Regions from separate parts of the Homo sapiens genome. Here regions 2, 3 and 4 are each linked to region 1. Evidence: promoter capture Hi-C in human tissues and cell types (Jung and others, 2019). All regions are on one chromosome and are shown on one strand. Each heading gives the region's core, a stretch centred on a gene start or on the middle of the fragment in contact. The rest is flanking DNA. Distances are from core to core; before and after follow the strand shown. Region 1 holds the start of LEAP2 (liver enriched antimicrobial peptide 2). Region 2 overlaps RAD50 (RAD50 double strand break repair protein). Region 3 overlaps HSPA4 (heat shock protein family A (Hsp70) member 4). Region 4 has its middle 12 kb from the start of IL4.

Evidence for each region. Contacts are between HindIII fragments. The study calls those that stand out against the background at their distance.
Region 2: a contact is called between a fragment that was not itself captured here and the fragment with the promoter of LEAP2 in region 1, in 1 of the 25 tissues and cell types used here (adrenal gland).
Region 3: a fragment that was not itself captured here is called in contact with the fragment with the promoter of LEAP2 in region 1 in 2 of the 25 tissues and cell types used here (heart left ventricle and pancreas).
Region 4: a fragment that was not itself captured here is called in contact with the fragment with the promoter of LEAP2 in region 1 in 1 of the 25 tissues and cell types used here (bladder).

The regions. Positions count from the first base shown.
Region 1 is chr5:132,872,376-132,875,022 of GRCh38, forward strand. LEAP2 (liver enriched antimicrobial peptide 2) reads left to right here and starts at 1,293. Exons shown (of 3, transcript NM_052971.3): 1 at 1,293-1,376; 2 at 1,575-1,714; 3 at 2,035-2,647. The coding sequence starts at 1,320. The coding sequence ends at 2,071. The HindIII fragment of the contact is 2,304 bases long and covers 1-1,298 here.
Region 2 is chr5:132,637,351-132,639,997 of GRCh38, forward strand. It overlaps RAD50 (RAD50 double strand break repair protein), which reads left to right. Exons shown (of 25, transcript NM_005732.4): 23 at 731-873. TH2LCRR (T helper type 2 locus control region associated RNA) reads right to left here. Exons shown (of 3, transcript NR_132125.1): 3 at 698-915. Among named protein-coding and RNA genes, the nearest start is that of TH2LCRR, 17 kb to the right of the region's middle. RefSeq lists an enhancer at 2,269-2,348. The HindIII fragment of the contact is 4,174 bases long and covers 1-2,647 here.
Region 3 is chr5:133,097,755-133,100,401 of GRCh38, forward strand. It overlaps HSPA4 (heat shock protein family A (Hsp70) member 4), which reads left to right. Exons shown (of 19, transcript NM_002154.4): 16 at 1,791-1,898. Among named protein-coding and RNA genes, the nearest start is that of HSPA4, 47 kb to the left of the region's middle. The HindIII fragment of the contact is 5,986 bases long and covers 1-2,647 here.
Region 4 is chr5:132,684,537-132,687,183 of GRCh38, forward strand. No RefSeq gene overlaps it. Among named protein-coding and RNA genes, the nearest start is that of IL4, 12 kb to the left of the region's middle. The HindIII fragment of the contact is 4,749 bases long and covers 1-2,647 here.

The sequences.
Region 1 (2,647 bases), core at 43-2,542:
CTGAGGTCCATCAAACCATCTGCTTCTCCCTTGGCAAGAAGCTCCCTCTGTCTGACTGGCAGCAGGGTCAGTGGCCATCCTTTTCTACCTTCAGCTGTTGTGCATCTCCTCCACGTTTTCCTGGAGTAAAGGAACAAGCAGGTTCTTATCCAAATACCCAACCTGTGAAGATGAGACGGCCCTTGGGAAGAGGTATTAGCCAAGTTTTCAGTATGATGCCCGGCAGAAAGAATTTGTTGTCTTTGTCTTAAGCTTATTATCCTCCCAGGTCATAGGAAGATCTAAAGTCCAATCAGTCTCCTTACTCAGAATTCACAGCTTTCCCCTCAAACTTAAAATGCCCATGTCATTTCACGAGTACCCATAACTACCCATCGTTTAGATACATGTCCTCCCTTGGTCTAGAAATCTGCAGCAGTTCCTACTTAAACTGATGGATGCTTTGGGCTTTGGAGGTATCTCATCCCTATGCCTGTTGCCCTGAAGCTGCCGGAAGGAAAGGCCCCACTCAACTACTGGGAAGAAAGCCCATAATTCAAGGCTTTTAATACAGTCACTACACAAGCTCTCCCTCTGATTTAGGAGATCTTGTTACCTCCTCATCTACATGTGCTTAAAAACAAAAAGAAACCTATAATTATTCAATTCACCTGTGGTCCAAATAAGTCTCACATCCAGCCATTCCCCTGAGAGGGCAGGAGGCCAGACTTTGAACTTTCCACAGCTGGGTCTTCATTTTACTAGTGAGATAAAGAGGTGCAGATTAGGGTGACAGTCCATCTAAGCAAGTGGACGATCTGGGGAACTGTAGGCCTTGCTGAAGCATCCTCCCACAGAAAGGAGATAAGGGCCTTATCCAATTGGCTGTACACAATAGATCAGTGCTTCTTTCCTAGACAAGGCTGAAAGGGGCCAACATTATTTCTGAAGACTTCATTATTGGAATTCTATGGGAGTGATCTCACTGAGCTATTTTGGAATAGAAATGTGGCTAGTTGCCTGACCTCCCTCAATGGTTTCACGTGGCTTTCAAAGGGAAGGAAGGGCAGTGCTGACTTTTGGTAAAATGGGCGAAAGGGTCCATGCCAGCAACACAATCACTCAAAGTCCAGATGAGGGATCAGTAAATACAACGTGCCTGAAAGGTGGCCCTTGAGCACATTCCTCCGGTAGACATTAACTTATTAAATTGATTCTGATTACAAATATAAACTTTGCCCCCATCTCACCCAGTAACAATGCAAGAGTTGATGTCAGTCTATAAAAGGAAGTAGGAACTGTCCCTGGCTTTCAGGCTCCAACATCCTCCCCCTGTCAAGATGTGGCACCTCAAACTTTGTGCAGTCCTCATGATCTTCCTGTTGCTGTTGGGCCAGGTAAGGAGGGAAGGATACTTATGTGTGTGTGTGGAGTGTGGAGATGATAGTGGTGGTGGAACTTGAAAGCTAGATTCAGTCCTGAGGAATGGTTCCTCTGTTCTGAGTCTACAGCATCTGCGGAATGGAATGATCACTCTTCCAAGGTGTGCAGCAGGGTGTCAACACTTTCATATCTGAATGTCTTTGCCCTTACAGATAGATGGCTCCCCAATACCAGAAGTGAGTTCGGCAAAGAGAAGGCCACGGAGAATGACCCCATTTTGGAGAGGGGTTTCCCTCAGGCCTATTGGAGCCTCCTGCCGGGATGATTCTGAGTGTATCACAAGGCTATGCAGGTACTCCCTGAACCTGGGAGCAGGGTTGGGCCAGAGAGCCCTGGGAAGCTGGGCAGAGGAGTGACAAGGGGACACATGAACCTAAGAATAAAGCTGGGATGGAGGAGTTCTAGACTGAGACTGGGAGCTCCATGGAAAATCCCTTAGGAGTTAGGAGCCAAGAACAGCTCTATGTGGGTACCATGAAAGAGTGGTGCCTTTCCATTCTTCAGTCTTTCCTGAGACTGGACAGATCAAGCAAAGAGGAAGGAAATGCAGCATAGGTGGCCCTGGTCATTCCTAGACCCAGTCTTAAAAAACTACCCTTTCTTTTCCCCTAGAAAAAGACGCTGTTCCTTAAGTGTGGCCCAGGAATGATGTACATACCAGGGAAAGAAAGGACAGCAGTCACCTCCGACAATGCTCCGTTCTATGGAATATTGATTAACTGCATTTTGGCTGGAGACACCCAAGTGAAGCAATCTTGTATTTTTAATATTTAAAGGCAGATGTACGCTTTAAATTGGTCTCCATTTCTTCTTAGAATGTTGATATATGGATAAGCATAACTAAACTTGTCAATTTAGAGTTTATTTTTCTATGGATACTATTAAATGTCTCAAATTGAAATTTTAGCAGTCTGGAATTCAAGCTTTTGAGGGAAAGAAGGATTCATTTTGTATACTAAAGAAAAAAACAGCATTGCCCAATAATGTGTTAACTTCTCAATCTGGAAAGTGTAGTGAGAGCTACATAATCAATAGCTACGTAATCAACTTCAGCAAGTTCCTAAGCTGTGGCCCTGGATCCCTTCACTCCATACTCTTCAGGGAGGTGTCAAAGGTGGTCAAGCTTGGGAGGCTGAGGCAGGAGAATCACTTGAACCTGGGAGGTGGAGGTTGCAGTGAGCCAAGATCATGCCACTGCACCCCAGCCTGGGTGACATAGAGAGAC
Region 2 (2,647 bases), core at 1-2,500, 240 kb before region 1:
CTTGTAGCAAGAAAATGTAAAGTTTTCTGTTCCAGAGCCTAACAGGACTTACATATTTGACTGCAGTAGGCATTATATTTAGCTGATGACATAATAGGTTCTGTCATAGTGTAGATAGGGATAAGCCAAAATGCAATAAGAAAAACCATCCAGAGGAAACTCTTTTTTTTTTCTTTTTCTTTTTTTTTTTTCCAGATGGAGTCTCGCACTTCTCTGTCACCCGGGCTGGAGCGCAGTGGTGCAATCTTGGCTCACTGCAACCTCCACCTCCTGGGTTCAGGTGATTCTCCCACCTCAGCCTCCCGAGTAGTAGCTGGAATTACAGGTGCGCGCTCCCACACCTGGCTAATTTTTTGTATTCTTAGTAGAGATGGGGTTTCACCATGTTGGCCAGGCTGGTCTCAAACTCCTGCCCTCAGGTGATCTGCCCACCTTGGCCTCCCAGTGTTGGGTTTACAGGCGTGAGCCACCGCGCCTGGCCTGGAGGAAACTCTTAACAGGGAAACTAAGAAAGAGTTGAGGCTGAGGAACTGGGGCATCTGGGTTGCTTCTGGCCAGACCACCAGGCTCTTGAATCCTCCCAGCCAGAGAAAGAGTTTCCACACCAGCCATTGTTTTCCTCTGGTAATGTCAGCCTCATCTGTTGTTCCTAGGCTTACTTGATATGTTTGTAAATGACAAAAGGCTACAGAGCATAGGTTCCTCTAAAATATTCTTCTTCCTGTGTCAGATATTGAATACATAGAAATACGGTCTGATGCCGATGAAAATGTATCAGCTTCTGATAAAAGGCGGAATTATAACTACCGAGTGGTGATGCTGAAGGGAGACACAGCCTTGGATATGCGAGGACGATGCAGTGCTGGACAAAAGGCAGGTATCTCAAAAGCCTGGGGAGCCAACTCACCCAAGTAACTGAAAGAGAGAAACAAACATCAGTGCAGTGGAAGCACCCAAGGCTACACCTGAATGGTGGGAAGCTCTTTGCTGCTATATAAAATGAATCAGGCTCAGCTACTATTATTACACTCTCCTGAAGCTAACCAACATTTCCTGCAACATTATGTAGACTTTTAAAAGAAGGGCCTGAAGCATTCTCACAGGATAGGCTAAATGTAGAACAAGAAGCTGAAGACCCGTTAGAGTTTTCATGGCACTCCTTATCAGAATAAGGTCACTGTCTCATCAGTTATAAGACATACCACTATTTTATGTGCCAGCAGGAATGAAAAAATGCAATTATAACCATAAGATGTTTCAGAATCAATGACATAATAGTATTGCAAACCAGATTCTAGCTTAAGCTAGAATGAATATTCCAGTATAGTAAGGAGTCTCATTAAGAAAGTAGCCCCTCATAGAACTAAGTCCCTACCACAGCATACACAAAGACTTAGCTGCTGGGTCAGGCCATCTGGCTTCAGGTAAGGCTCTGTGAGGACAGCCTACATTGGAAATCAGGAAGAGGAATGAAGTTTTAAAGAATCAGGAATATGGCATCCTTGGGGAACAAGGCTGGATCCTTCACTGTGCACAGGTTTGTAACAAAGATGTCACAGATACTTGAGCTTTCTGCTTTCAGATCAAGGCAGAAGATTACACTTGATAACACCTCTAGGCCCTTGACTTTTTTTAAATAAAATTCTAAAATCATAGAAATAGATGCTTACATTATCTAACTCATTTTCATAGTTTGCAGTTTTTGCTTAAAGAACATGCCATGCAGCTGGGCATGGTGTCTCACACCTGTAATCGCAGCACTTTGGAAGGCCGAGGCGGGCAGATCACCTGAGGTCAGGAGTTCGAGACCAGCCTAACATGGTGAAACTCCGTCTCTATTAAAAATACAAAAATTAGCTGGGCATGGTAGCATGTGCCTGTAATCCCAGCTACTCGGGAGGCTGAGGCAGGAGAATTGCTTGAACCTGGGAGGCGGAGGTTGCAGTGAGCCGAGATCGTGCCATTGCACTCCAGCCCAGGCAACAAGAGCGAAACTCCGTCTCAAAAAAAAAAAAAAAAAAGAACATGCCATGCATATATGTATTATGTTGTCAGCCTAGACAGCTGATCCCAATTTAAAGCATCTGCAGATTACTGTCTAAATCATAGTCTACAAAAATGACAAACTTGTGATCTGTAATCAGTATCCCTACGTGCTTTGATGATTTTTAGTGGTAATTATAAATGAGAAAATACAGAGTTTGAAACATGGTCTCTTTGAATTAAAAATACTTTCAAAAATATCTTGAGGAAAAAGATTTTTTGTAGCTATTCTGAGTTATGAAAATTAATTAGCAATAATTGTCTCCTTGGTGTGAGGGGAGAGAACAAATAATGGAGGTGGGCCTCCAGCCTACCTAACACTGGCTTTTGCTGAGGCTCTAGCAGCCAGCCAGGGGCTCTGCATGTGAGTGGGTGGTGGTAGAGTTGACAGCAGTTTGGATTCAAAGACAGGAAGGAAATGCCTGTCCCTCACAGGGCCAAGCTGTGGCCCTGTCTTCTGGCTTGCCTAGGCATTAAAGAAAAGACATAAACTATTCTAAAATTACCAACTCACTGATGTGTGCGCACCCACCCACAAACTGAGGGGGAAAGGGGACTTACAGCTCACACCAGAGTAGTTTATACTTCCTAGAATAGCCCTACT
Region 3 (2,647 bases), core at 58-2,557, 230 kb after region 1:
ATCAGGCTGGTCTCTAACTCCTGACCTCAGGTGATCCGCCCGCCTTGGCCTCCCGAAGTGCTGGGATTACAGGTGTGAGCCACTGCGCCCAGCCTGTATTTTTCTTTAAATTGTTAAAGCTCACTTTTTCCTGTTTATTGTAACTCAGAATTTTTAGTTTTTTTTTTTTTTTAATTTGAATAGCTCTTGGGTACAGGTGGTTTTTGGTTACATGGATGAATTATATAGTGGTGAATTCTGAGATTTTGGTGCACCTGTCATCCACGTCCTGTACATCATACCTAAGATGGTAGTTTTTTTATCCCACACCCCACTTCTGTCCTCCCGCTTTTGAGTCTCCAAAGTCCATTATATTTCTGCATATGCTCCATAGCTTAGCTCCTACTTATAAGGGAAAACATAGCAGTATTTGGTTTTCCATTCCCAAGTTACTTCACTTAGAATAATGGCCTCCAGCTCCATCCAGTTGCTGCAAAAGACATTATTTTGCTACTTTTTATGACTCAGTAGTATTCCATGGTGTGTATATACCACGTTTTCTTTATTTTATTTTTATTTTTTATTTATTTATTTTTGAGACGGAGTCTCGCTCTGTCGCCCAGGCTGGAGTGCGGTGACGCGATCTTGGCTCACTGCAGGCTCTGCCTCTCAGGTTCACGCCATTCTCCTGCCTCAGCCTCCGGAGTAGCCGGGAGTACAGGTGCCTGCTACCACGCCTGGCTAATTTTTTTTTTTTTTGTATTTTTTTTTAGTAGAGATGGGGTTTCACCGTGTTAGCCAGGATGGTCTCGATCTCCTGACTTCGTGATCCACCTGCCTCGGCCTCCCAGAGTGCTGGGATTACAGGCGTGAGTCACCGTGCCCGGTCTACCATGTTTTCTTTATTTACTCATTGGTTGATGGGTACTTAGTTGTTTTTATTTTTTTATTTTTTTGAGATGGAGTTTCGGTCTTATTGCCCAGGCTGGAGTACAGTGGTACGATCTTGGCTCACTGCAACCTCCACCTCCCTGGTTCAAGTGATTCTTCTGCCTCAGCCTCCCTAGTAGCTGGGACTACAGGCATGCTCCACCATGCCTGGCTAATTTTTGTATTTTTAGTAGAGACGGGGTTTCACCATGTTGGCCAGGCTAGTCTGTCCTTACCTCAGGTGATCCACCCGCCTCAGCCTCCCAAAGTGCTGGGATTACAGGCGTGAGCCAGTGTTCCCAGATGCACTTGCTTTTACATGCAGTTTTTATTCTGAAATTTTTTAACTTACCGAAAGCCCTCCACGGCAGGGAGAATAATATAATAAAACTCCCCATACCTATCAAGTAGACCAACATTTGCCATCCTTGTTTTCTGTATCTCCCATCTCCTTACTCCCCCTGTATCTTATCTTATTTTTTTTGAAATGGAGCCTTGCTCTGTTGCCCAGGCTGGAGTGCAGTGGCCCCATCTTGGGTCACTGCAACCTCCGCCTCCTGAGTTCAGGCAGTTCCCCTGCTTCAGCCTTTGTAGTAGCTGGGATTACAGGTGTCTACCATCACGCCCGGGTAATTTTTTTTGTATTTTTAGTGGAGACGGGGTTTCACCATGTTGGCCAGGCTGTTCTTGAACTCCTGACCTCAGGTGATCCACCTGCCTCAGCCTCCCAAAGTGCTGGGATTACAAGTGTGAGCCACTGCACCTGGCTGCCCTCTGTATTTTAAAGCAAATCTCAGATACATCATTATATTCTATGCCTCTGACTGTATTGGGGATGTAATTTTTGATTGACCTAATTATAATATTTTCTTTATCATTAGGATCGTAACAGTTTTACTTTGAAACTGGAAGATACTGAAAATTGGTTGTATGAGGATGGAGAAGACCAGCCAAAGCAAGTTTATGTTGATAAGTTGGCTGAATTAAAAGTAAGTGACTCTTGAGAGCAGAGGTATCCAGAACCCTTGTTGAAGCTTCCTCTGAGGAGCTCAAATTTGGGAGGAATTCTCAAGTAAAGACAGACTGAAAATGATGTTTGATGAACTAAAATAAACCCTTTATGACTTAGGCTCATTATCATTCTCACTTTTAGAACCTTGTAATAACAAAATGATTTTTCTGAAAATTGACTTTAGGTTTGTAATGTTTCACTGAACTGGATGTTTAGTGCATTCTTGGTGTCAAGAGATAAAATGACTGCAAGACTTAGTACCTGCCCTAAAGGCACAGGGAATGCAGCTGGAGCAGGGCTGTTTCTGTTTATGTAGTTTGGATTCTTGATAAAAGCAAAGCATCTGGTGGTTTATTTTTTATTATTTTATTTATTTATTATTTATTTATTCATTTATTTATTTTTAAATACACAGTCTTGCTCTGTTGCCCAGGCTGGAGTGCAGTGGCGCAGTCTCGGCTCACTGCAACCTCTGCCTCCTGGGTTCAGGGGATTCTCATGCTTCAGCCTCCAGAGTAGCTGGGATTACAGGCGCGTGCCACCATGCCTAGCTAATTTTTGTATTTTTAGTAGAGACAGGGTTTCTTTTCACCATGTTGGCCAGGCTGGTCTTGAACTCCTGACTTCAAGTGATCTGCATGCCTTGGCCTCCCGAAGTGCTGGAATTATAGGTGTGAGCCACCATGCCTAGCCAAAGCATCTGGTTTTGTATTTAAAGCATCTGAT
Region 4 (2,647 bases), core at 86-2,585, 190 kb before region 1:
AAGAAGCCAAATGCAGAAGACCACATATGGTATGATTCTACTGATATGAATTATTCAGAACAGGAGAATCCACAGAGGCAAAAATAGAATATTGATTGCTACAGGCTGTGGGTGGGAGGCGGGTGTGGAGGCATGGGGAGTGACTGATAATGGGGGGTGGGGTTTCTTTCAGGGGTGATGAAAATGTTCGGATATTAGATAATGGTGATGGTTGCACAATTCTATGAACATACTAAAAAGCACTGACTCGTACACTTTAAAAGGATAAATTTCGTAGTAGGTGAATTCTATCTCAATAAAGCTGTTATTTAAAAGAAATTAAAAGGGGGAAAAAAACCCAAGTGTCATCAAAACTTGCCTTTTGAAGACTTGTTCTCTGTAAGAATATGGATCTAGTAACAGTGATTGAGCACTCTCTTTTCATCCTCGCTTACAGAGATGTGACAAAATTAATATGAGTACTAAAATTACACCAAAACATGTAACATCTTTTTAACCCTTTCAAAATAAGGGAACAAATCAAAAGCTTCAAGTCTCACCCTGACCACAGCCAGTTTCACCCTGCCCACATAAAATACCAGCATGCCAAGGGCAATAAATAGCTATGAGAGTCATGGAGGCTCCTCAGGCCAACCGGAGAAGACACATACTGTAAATTTTAATTTCCTTTCTTCTTTGATTGAGGCTCATTTGCATTCAATGGCTAATGTGAGTTGTAGTCTGCCACAGGATATGGGTAGTGGGTTACAGTTTGTATATGAGGACAGGATGGTAAAGGAAAGTAGGAAGATTTAGAGCACGCCATGGAAAGGACACATGCAGACTCTAAGCAGGTCTGTCATCACATAAGCTTCATTAGGCAAGATGCAACTCACATTTCCATTTACTCCCAGTCAGGCAGTCCTGGACTCTGGATGCAAACATGCAACAACAACAAGCCTTTGAATTTCCGAAGACAATGAGAACACAAATTGAGGGGGATACTTATAAAAACAGTGGGTGAGGCCGGGCGCAGTGGCTCACGCCTGTAATTCCAGCACTTTGGGAGACTGAAGCAGGCGGATCACCTTAGGTCAGGAGTTCAAGACCAGCCTGGCCAACATGGCGAAACCCCGTCTCTACTAAAAATACAAAAATTAGCTGGGGATGCTAGTGCACACGTGTAATCCAGCTACTCGGGAGGCTGAGGCAGGAGAATCGCTTGAACCTGGGAGGTGGAGGTTGCAGTGAGCCAAGATCGTGCCATTGCACTCCAGCCTGGGCGGCAGAGCGAGATTCTGTCTCAAAAAAAAAAAAACAAAACAAAAAACAGAGGGTGAAAAACCTTCAGGATTAAGTGAAAGTTAAGATGCTTGTCATCTGAGCACATTTATGTAGCAAACTCAGCCACAGCCCGTGCCTGCTTCATGGGACATGCCTTTTGTCTGTGTGTGGAATATGACATTGACAGTAAGTCTGAACCTTTCCCTCCTGGCTATCATACCTCCACCTTTTGCCAATGAATAAACTATCTGTAACTGGCATCTAGGGGGTAATAATTATTTATTGGAAAAATGAATCAAAAAATGATTTGGCTCAAATCTATGGCTGTCTTTTATGGAAACATTGTTGGGCTACAGTTACAAAGGGTCACCTCTGTTACAAATGCCAAGGGGGCTCTGCTTGTTGCTGTCCATGTCATTGACCCTGCTCTTGGTTTTTCTCTGCCCTCCTTCACATAATCTCAGGGTGCCCACATTATCTAAGGATGGGAATCTCAAGGCTAAGCACAACGCAGAGCTTCCTTATGGAGCTAGGCACAGCCTGGCCTATGACACACAGGGTTGGCTTCTCAGTTTCTAGTAGCTTCCACTAGGAGCAAGGCAGGCACTTTCTCTAGCCTTGGGGCTGATTTCTAGATTCAATTTATTAGCTCAAGTTTGAGTTCCATTCCCAGGTGGAGTACTAAAATCCCCAGTTAGCTGTCACGCCCAGCGTTTCCTCAACTGGGCTTTTGCCCTAAGTACCCAGACACCCTCTCCTTGGCTCTCTAAAGTGTTGTTGTTTTTTTTTTTTTTTTTTTTTTTTTAATGAGACAGAGTCTCGCTCTGTCACCCAGGCTAGAGTGCAGTGGCGAGATCTTGGCTCACTGCAACCTCCACCTCCCAGCTTCAAGCAATTCTCCTGCCTCAGCCTCCTGAGTAGCTGGGATTACAGGTGCCTGCCACCACACCTGCCTCATTTTTTTGTATTATTAGTAGAGATGGGGTTTCACTGTGTTGGCCAGGCTGGTCTTGAACTCCTGACCTCAGGTGATCCACCCACCTCGGCCTCCCAAAGTGCTGGGATTACAGGCATGAGCCACTGTACCCAGCCTAAAGTGGCTATCTTCTAATCCATCCTGTCAACTTCTTCCTAGTCCAACTTTAAGTCTCTAAGCTGTCTGTTCCTTCTAGTTTCTGATTAGCCAGAGTTCAGCCAAACGAAAATATGTTTTGATGTTTTGTATGCTCACTGCACACCTGGGTACTTACTAGGCAACGTGAATAAGAGGACACACATTTGCTCCCTCAGTTTATACCAATCACGAGTGCAAGCAAAACAGCTGAGAAGAGAGGGCGGTTACTCCTCTGGCTGATGACCCTTTCCACCTCCGGGACACAGGTGT